3 separate regions of the Homo sapiens genome follow, and all the other regions are linked to region 3. Evidence: promoter capture Hi-C in 16 types of primary human blood cells and fetal thymus (Javierre and others, 2016). All regions are on one chromosome and are shown on one strand. The core of a region is centred on a gene start or on the middle of the fragment in contact, and the rest is flanking DNA. Distances in the headings are between cores, read along the strand shown.

The links. Contacts are between HindIII fragments. The CHiCAGO score rates a contact against its expected background, and 5 or more counts as called.
Region 1: the fragment with the promoter of NKPD1 here is called in contact with the fragment with the promoter of APOE in region 3 in 2 of 17 cell types (naive B cells and total B cells); the score reaches 7.7 in naive B cells.
Region 2: a contact is called between a fragment that was not itself captured here and the fragment with the promoter of APOE in region 3, in 1 of 17 cell types (naive B cells). The highest score is 5.6, in naive B cells.

The regions. Positions count from the first base shown.
Region 1 is chr19:45,159,651-45,162,432 of GRCh38, forward strand. NKPD1 (NTPase KAP family P-loop domain containing 1) reads right to left here and starts at 1,332. Exons shown (of 5, transcript NM_198478.4): 1 at 1,275-1,332; 2 at 410-571. The coding sequence starts at 500. RefSeq lists an enhancer at 982-1,614. The HindIII fragment of the contact is 37,147 bases long and covers 1-2,782 here.
Region 2 is chr19:44,662,193-44,664,892 of GRCh38, forward strand. It overlaps PVR (PVR cell adhesion molecule), which reads left to right. Exons shown (of 8, transcript NM_006505.5): 8 at 1-2,700. Among named protein-coding and RNA genes, the nearest start is that of CEACAM19, 7.9 kb to the right of the region's middle. The HindIII fragment of the contact is 240 bases long and covers 1,131-1,370 here.
Region 3 is chr19:44,904,319-44,907,094 of GRCh38, forward strand. It overlaps APOE (apolipoprotein E), which reads left to right and starts at 1,478. Exons shown (of 4, transcript NM_000041.4): 1 at 1,478-1,523; 2 at 2,284-2,349. The coding sequence starts at 2,307. RefSeq lists enhancers at 795-1,597, 2,400-2,776. The HindIII fragment of the contact is 10,718 bases long and covers 1-2,776 here.

The DNA.
Region 1 (2,782 bases), core at 82-2,581, 260 kb after region 3:
TGCCCCCTCCCCACCCTGAACAAGATCACCTGTGGTCACCACCAGAAACTGGGCCCAGCCTCATCCAGACATGTTCAGTGGGGGGGCTCCCTCTCCTACCCCTCACTCCCAGCACACTGCTCCCCTCCAGGCTGGAGGCCATCCACACAGGCCTCAGGGTTTGGAAACGGGGCAGGGCAGGCCAGGCGGCCCCTGCTTCCAACTCCAGCCCAGGCTCCTATCTTTGGGCCCGCAGGCCCTGTGGTCCGGGTCCTGGGTCCCAGGCCCTGCTGCTACACAGATGCCTCTGGGTGGAGTGCAAGTGGCTTTTCTCTCCTGGGGATGACAGCTCCCCTTCTGTTCCTCCATTCACTCTGGCTTCCTCACAGGCCTCTGTCGGCCATCACCCGCCCCCAAACTGAACCCGTACCTTTTCGGTGCCCCAACTCTGGGTCCCAGAAGTAGTGCCCGTTGGGGCTCTGGGCATCCTTGGCGAAGTGGACTTTGTAATGTTTGTGCATGGCAGCCGGGCAGCTGGGTGCTGGGGGCCTGCTCCTGAGGCAGGAGGGAGCACACAGGCTTGGCGTAGCCTCTGGGGCACGAACAGCAGAGAGCTGAGGTCAGGGTCCCTGCCCTGCCCGACAGCTTGGACAGGGGAAAGGCCAAGTCCCAGATGCTGGGTTCCTAGGTCACTTGGGAGAAGGGGGTAGAGGTGGCCTTCAGGGTACAGTGAGGGGCAGGATAAGGAGGGATGGCCAGAGGAGGGAACGGAGAACCGCTGGGGTTGGCTAGGGGTTAATTTGAGGCTGGGTGTTGGGAAGCTCCTGGGAGTTTCCAAGAGGCTAGGACACTGGGGAGTGCTGAGCAGACATGGGCTGGGGAAATAGGGGGTCCGGTGTGGTGGCTGAGTGACCAAGGGGTCATTAAGGTGTGGGCGCTGTGGGAGGCTGGCACGCTTTGGAAGGACATGGAGCTAGTGAGGTGAGCTGGAGAGCAGATGAGAAGCAGGGTGAGTGAAAATCAGAGCTGGGTACCTGTGGGCATTGAATGATACGGTGGAGGGGGAATTGTGAGGGAGCAATGAAATCGCGGTGGTCCAATTTGGGGAGAGGCTCAGCAAACTCGGGCAAGATGGGTGTACCGCGTTTCCAATGTGAAGAGCCGAAAGCAGGACAGGGAAGGATGCTGTGTGGGGGACAGGGATAGGGAAAGGCTGAGGGGCAGAGGAAACTGGGGTGCTGAGAGTTGGTAGCCTGCCCACCACTCCCCACCCCCAGTCCCAGTCCCACTCGTACCTGACGGTGGCCTCACGGCCCCAGCTGCCTGCCCCACGAGCAGCTGCCACACCAGCCCGGACTGTCAGCGCAGGCCCATCCAGATGGAGGCCTCAGCCCAGTGCCCGCCTGACCGGTTTGCCTGCCTGTCCCCGCCCCTTCCCCAGCGCCTGCCTGTCCCAGTGCTCTCTGCTCTCGAGGACTGGGACTCCGACTGGACTCAGTCTTGTGTCCCCATCCCTGGTAAGGAACGGAGATGCATCCCGCAGCACTGCCTCAATCTCCTTAAGGCAGCCACAGGCCCAGGCACTTCTGCTGGTGTGGGGGGGACAGGGAGCTGGGATGCCAGCTCCTCCGTGGCCCAGGTATGTGACCTTGGGCAGGTGACTTCACTCTCCGAGCCATGGCTTCCTCATTGCTGAGTGGGCACCTGCCTCTCGTGGCTGTCGCGAGGGAGGCACTGGGTGGGAGTCCCCTCAGCTCAGGGCCTGGCGCACCTGACCCGGGGCTGTGCTGACCCATTTACCTGGCGCTGTTCTAAATGGATGTCCATAGGACAAGGGCAACAGCACACACATCAAGGCTTGCTACACCATAGCCCCGTCTTCCTCTCCACCACCCAGGGGGCCAGGTGTGATGCCCGCTTCACAGATGAGGACACTGAGGCCCAGAGAAGTGAAGTCCTCGGCCCCAGGGCACACAGAGGCAGGGCGGGGATTTGGAAGCAGTCAGTGGTTGCTACTCCCAGGCTCGCCAAGGCTCTGTCTCCTGCCCTCGGGGCCAGCACTCAGTGACTGCCTCCCCACAGATGCCCTCTGAGGGGTGAGGGCCGGGGTAAGGCTGGGCAGGAGATGCCCTGAAGGCCCCTCGGCTCTCTGGGGCCCCGGCTCCCTGTGGCTGCTGGCGTAACGGGGTCAACAGTTGCTTCCCTGACAGACGGGGTGCTCCGATGGGGATGGGGGAGGCAGCCCCAGAACAGTGCCCAGGACAAGATAAAGGGAACCCACCCAGCCCTGAGTTCTGCCCAGGTGACCAAACACTGCTCCCTACGGCCAGAGCCAGGGCCCTTCCTGCGACCTGGGACCCCGTCTCCTCCCCCACCCTTCAAGCCGGTTGCTCTGGGAAGGTTCCTCCCTGGCCCACCAGGGAGGCGGGGCTGGCATCTGAGCGTGGGCATCTGCAGTGGGCCTCCGTGCCAACCCCCCACACCCCCGGCCCGATCATGAAGCGTGGCCCAATGTAAATGAGCCGTCTCCGCAGGACGAGATTGCCCCGGGCTGGGAGCACAGTGGCCAGGAGGCTGCTGGACACTAGGGGGAGCAGGCGTTTGGGGAGTGGGCCAGGCGGGCAGCACTGCAGAGGCAGACACAGGACACAGCTACACTCAGCCAGGTGGAATAGGAAGGGGTGACCCAGGCAGGGCCTGACGGGGTGACTGGACCCCACTCTACAGGGGAGGTTCTTTAGCAAGGGGCCCCTTTCTCATCCCATTTGGGGTTCACCCCCAGCCTTGGTGGGCAGCTCTGAGC
Region 2 (2,700 bases), core at 1-2,500, 240 kb before region 3:
CAACATGCAAGAAGTACTGCCAATACTGCCAACCAGAGCAGCTCACTCGAGATCTTTGTGTCCAGAGTTTTTTGTTTGTCTTGAGACAGGGTCTGGCTCTGTTGGCAGACTAGAGTACAGTGGTGAGATCACAGTTCATTGCAGCCTTGACTTCTCAACGCCAAGTCATCCTCCCACCTCAGCCTCCTGAGTAGCTATGACTACAGGTATGTGCCACCACGTCTGGCTAATCTTTTTATTATTTGTAAAGTCGAGGTTTCCCTGTGTTGCCCAGGCTGGTCTTGAACTCTTGGCTCCAAGTGATACTTCTGCCTTGGCCTCCCAAAGTGCTGAATTAAGCAGCTCACCATCCACACGGCTGACCTCATACATCAAGCCAATACCGTGTGGCCCAAGACCCCCACCATAAATCACATCATTAGCATGAACCACCCAGAGTGGCCCAAGACTCCAAGATCAGCTACCAGGCAGGATATTCCAAGGGCTTAGAGATGAATGCCCAGGAGCTGAGGATAAAGGGCCCGATCTTTCTTTGGGCAAGGTTAAGCCTTTACTGCATAGCAGACCACACAGAAGGGTGTGGGCCACCAGAGAATTTTGGTAAAAATTTGGCCTCTGGCCTTGAGCTTCTAAATCTCTGTATCCGTCAGATCTCTGTGGTTACAAGAAACAGCCACTGACCCTGGTCACCAGAGGCTGCAATTCAGGCCGCAAGCAGCTGCCTGGGGGGTGTCCAAGGAGCAGAGAAAACTACTAGATGTGAACTTGAAGAAGGTTGTCAGCTGCAGCCACTTTCTGCCAGCATCTGCAGCCACTTTCTGCCAGCATCTGCAGCCAGCAAGCTGGGACTGGCAGGAAATAACCCACAAAAGAAGCAAATGCAATTTCCAACACAAGGGGGAAGGGATGCAGGGGGAGGCAGCGCTGCAGTTGCTCAGGACACGCTCCTATAGGACCAAGATGGATGCGACCCAAGACCCAGGAGGCCCAGCTGCTCAGTGCAACTGACAAGTTAAAAAGGTCTATGATCTTGAGGGCAGACAGCAGAATTCCTCTTATAAAGAAAACTGTTTGGGAAAATACGTTGAGGGAGAGAAGACCTTGGGCCAAGATGCTAAATGGGAATGCAAAGCTTGAGCTGCTCTGCAAGAGAAAATAAGCAGGACAGAGGATTTGCTCTGGACAGAGATGGAAGAGCCGGGAACAGAGAAGTGTGGGGAAGAGATAGGAACCAGCAGGATGGCAGGGGCAAAGGGCTCAAGGGTGAGGAGGCCAGTGGGACCCCACAGAGTTGGGGAGATAAAGGAACATTGGTTGCTTTGGTGGCACGTAAGCTCCTTGTCTGTCTCCAGCACCCAGAATCTCATTAAAGCTTATTTATTGTACCTCCAGCGGCTGTGTGCAATGGGGTCTTTTGTGGAAATCAAGGAGCAGACAGGTTTCATGTGTACTGTCACCACGTGGGATGGAACCAGAGGCATGGAAGCAAGACGCTAAATGAAGAGGGCCATAAGGGCTGGGATTCCCAGGCACCTTAGGAACAGCTTGTCTTTTTTTTTTTCCTCTCCAAAAAAAATGTTTAAGGGACGGTGTCTCCTGTCACCCAGGCTGGAGTGCAATGGCACGATCATAGCTCATTGCAGCCTCTAACTCCGGGGCTCAAGCAATCCTCCCACCTCAGCCTACCAAGTAGCTGTGACCACAGCTGCCCCTCACCATGCTAAGCTAATTTTTTTAATTAGATAGTACATAAACGTCCCAAAATTAGAAGATAAAAAGACATGAGGGATCCATTCTAATTTGTGTTTGGAGTGTAATGGTCCAGCTCCATTCTTCTGCACATGGATATCCAGTTTTACACAACACTGTGAATGTAATGAATGCCACTGAATCATACACTCAAAAATAGCTAAAATGGCAAATTGTCTGTTATCTCTTTTTAACCACCATTTTTGAAAATTAATTATACCAAAAAACCATTGAATAGTGCACTTTATTTATTTATTTATTTGTTTATTTATTTATTTATTTTAGAAATAAGAGTCTCACTTTGTTGCCCAGGCTGGAGTGCAGTGGCGTGATCATGGCTCATTGCAGCCTCGACCTGCTGGGCTCGGGCTATCCTTCCATCTCAGCCTCCCGAGTAGCTGGGACTATAGGTGGGCGCCACCCCACCTGGCTAAATCTCTTTTTAACTTTTGTAGAGATAGGCATCTCGCTATGTTGCCTAGGCTGGGCTGGAACTCCTGGGCTCAAGTGCTCCTCCTGCCTTGGCCTCCCAAAGCGCTAGGATTACAGATGTGAGCCACCGCGCCCACCCTGAACCTTACTTTTTTTGCTCAGTTTCTGGTAATTCAGAGAATGCCTCCTGAGTTGTTCTACACCCACCTCATATTCCATGGGAGGGCTGTACAGGGCTTTTTTAACGAGGCCTCTAAGGACAGGCATTTGTATCCTTTCCAGCCTTTCACTATTACAATGTTGTAGTGAATAACTTTACACACTGTCATTTATTTTACTTTTTTTTTTTTTTATTTTAGAGAAAGGAATCTTGCCATCTTGCCCAGGCTGGTCTCAAATTCCTGGGCCCAAACAATCCTCCCGCCTTGGCCTCCTAAAGTACTGGGATTTATAGGCATAAGCCACCGTGCCTGGCCAATGCACACTGTCATTTAGCTCATGTTAACACCTGAGTGTAGG
Region 3 (2,776 bases), core at 228-2,727:
GGCTGCTGAGTAGAACCAACCCCAGGTTACCAACCCCACCTCAGCCACCCCTTGCCAGCCAAAGCAAACAGGCCCGGCCCGGCACTGGGGGTTCCTTCTCGAACCAGGAGTTCAGCCTCCCCTGACCCGCAGAATCTTCTGATCCCACCCGCTCCAGGAGCCAGGAATGAGTCCCAGTCTCTCCCAGTTCTCACTGTGTGGTTTTGCCATTCGTCTTGCTGCTGAACCACGGGTTTCTCCTCTGAAACATCTGGGATTTATAACAGGGCTTAGGAAAGTGACAGCGTCTGAGCGTTCACTGTGGCCTGTCCATTGCTAGCCCTAACATAGGACCGCTGTGTGCCAGGGCTGTCCTCCATGCTCAATACACGTTAGCTTGTCACCAAACATACCCGTGCCGCTGCTTTCCCAGTCTGATGAGCAAAGGAACTTGATGCTCAGAGAGGACAAGTCATTTGCCCAAGGTCACACAGCTGGCAACTGGCAGAGCCAGGATTCACGCCCTGGCAATTTGACTCCAGAATCCTAACCTTAACCCAGAAGCACGGCTTCAAGCCCCTGGAAACCACAATACCTGTGGCAGCCAGGGGGAGGTGCTGGAATCTCATTTCACATGTGGGGAGGGGGCTCCCCTGTGCTCAAGGTCACAACCAAAGAGGAAGCTGTGATTAAAACCCAGGTCCCATTTGCAAAGCCTCGACTTTTAGCAGGTGCATCATACTGTTCCCACCCCTCCCATCCCACTTCTGTCCAGCCGCCTAGCCCCACTTTCTTTTTTTTCTTTTTTTGAGACAGTCTCCCTCTTGCTGAGGCTGGAGTGCAGTGGCGAGATCTCGGCTCACTGTAACCTCCGCCTCCCGGGTTCAAGCGATTCTCCTGCCTCAGCCTCCCAAGTAGCTAGGATTACAGGCGCCCGCCACCACGCCTGGCTAACTTTTGTATTTTTAGTAGAGATGGGGTTTCACCATGTTGGCCAGGCTGGTCTCAAACTCCTGACCTTAAGTGATTCGCCCACTGTGGCCTCCCAAAGTGCTGGGATTACAGGCGTGAGCTACCGCCCCCAGCCCCTCCCATCCCACTTCTGTCCAGCCCCCTAGCCCTACTTTCTTTCTGGGATCCAGGAGTCCAGATCCCCAGCCCCCTCTCCAGATTACATTCATCCAGGCACAGGAAAGGACAGGGTCAGGAAAGGAGGACTCTGGGCGGCAGCCTCCACATTCCCCTTCCACGCTTGGCCCCCAGAATGGAGGAGGGTGTCTGTATTACTGGGCGAGGTGTCCTCCCTTCCTGGGGACTGTGGGGGGTGGTCAAAAGACCTCTATGCCCCACCTCCTTCCTCCCTCTGCCCTGCTGTGCCTGGGGCAGGGGGAGAACAGCCCACCTCGTGACTGGGGGCTGGCCCAGCCCGCCCTATCCCTGGGGGAGGGGGCGGGACAGGGGGAGCCCTATAATTGGACAAGTCTGGGATCCTTGAGTCCTACTCAGCCCCAGCGGAGGTGAAGGACGTCCTTCCCCAGGAGCCGGTGAGAAGCGCAGTCGGGGGCACGGGGATGAGCTCAGGGGCCTCTAGAAAGAGCTGGGACCCTGGGAACCCCTGGCCTCCAGGTAGTCTCAGGAGAGCTACTCGGGGTCGGGCTTGGGGAGAGGAGGAGCGGGGGTGAGGCAAGCAGCAGGGGACTGGACCTGGGAAGGGCTGGGCAGCAGAGACGACCCGACCCGCTAGAAGGTGGGGTGGGGAGAGCAGCTGGACTGGGATGTAAGCCATAGCAGGACTCCACGAGTTGTCACTATCATTTATCGAGCACCTACTGGGTGTCCCCAGTGTCCTCAGATCTCCATAACTGGGGAGCCAGGGGCAGCGACACGGTAGCTAGCCGTCGATTGGAGAACTTTAAAATGAGGACTGAATTAGCTCATAAATGGAACACGGCGCTTAACTGTGAGGTTGGAGCTTAGAATGTGAAGGGAGAATGAGGAATGCGAGACTGGGACTGAGATGGAACCGGCGGTGGGGAGGGGGTGGGGGGATGGAATTTGAACCCCGGGAGAGGAAGATGGAATTTTCTATGGAGGCCGACCTGGGGATGGGGAGATAAGAGAAGACCAGGAGGGAGTTAAATAGGGAATGGGTTGGGGGCGGCTTGGTAAATGTGCTGGGATTAGGCTGTTGCAGATAATGCAACAAGGCTTGGAAGGCTAACCTGGGGTGAGGCCGGGTTGGGGCCGGGCTGGGGGTGGGAGGAGTCCTCACTGGCGGTTGATTGACAGTTTCTCCTTCCCCAGACTGGCCAATCACAGGCAGGAAGATGAAGGTTCTGTGGGCTGCGTTGCTGGTCACATTCCTGGCAGGTATGGGGGCGGGGCTTGCTCGGTTCCCCCCGCTCCTCCCCCTCTCATCCTCACCTCAACCTCCTGGCCCCATTCAGGCAGACCCTGGGCCCCCTCTTCTGAGGCTTCTGTGCTGCTTCCTGGCTCTGAACAGCGATTTGACGCTCTCTGGGCCTCGGTTTCCCCCATCCTTGAGATAGGAGTTAGAAGTTGTTTTGTTGTTGTTGTTTGTTGTTGTTGTTTTGTTTTTTTGAGATGAAGTCTCGCTCTGTCGCCCAGGCTGGAGTGCAGTGGCGGGATCTCGGCTCACTGCAAGCTCCGCCTCCCAGGTCCACGCCATTCTCCTGCCTCAGCCTCCCAAGTAGCTGGGACTACAGGCACATGCCACCACACCCGACTAACTTTTTTGTATTTTCAGTAGAGACGGGGTTTCACCATGTTGGCCAGG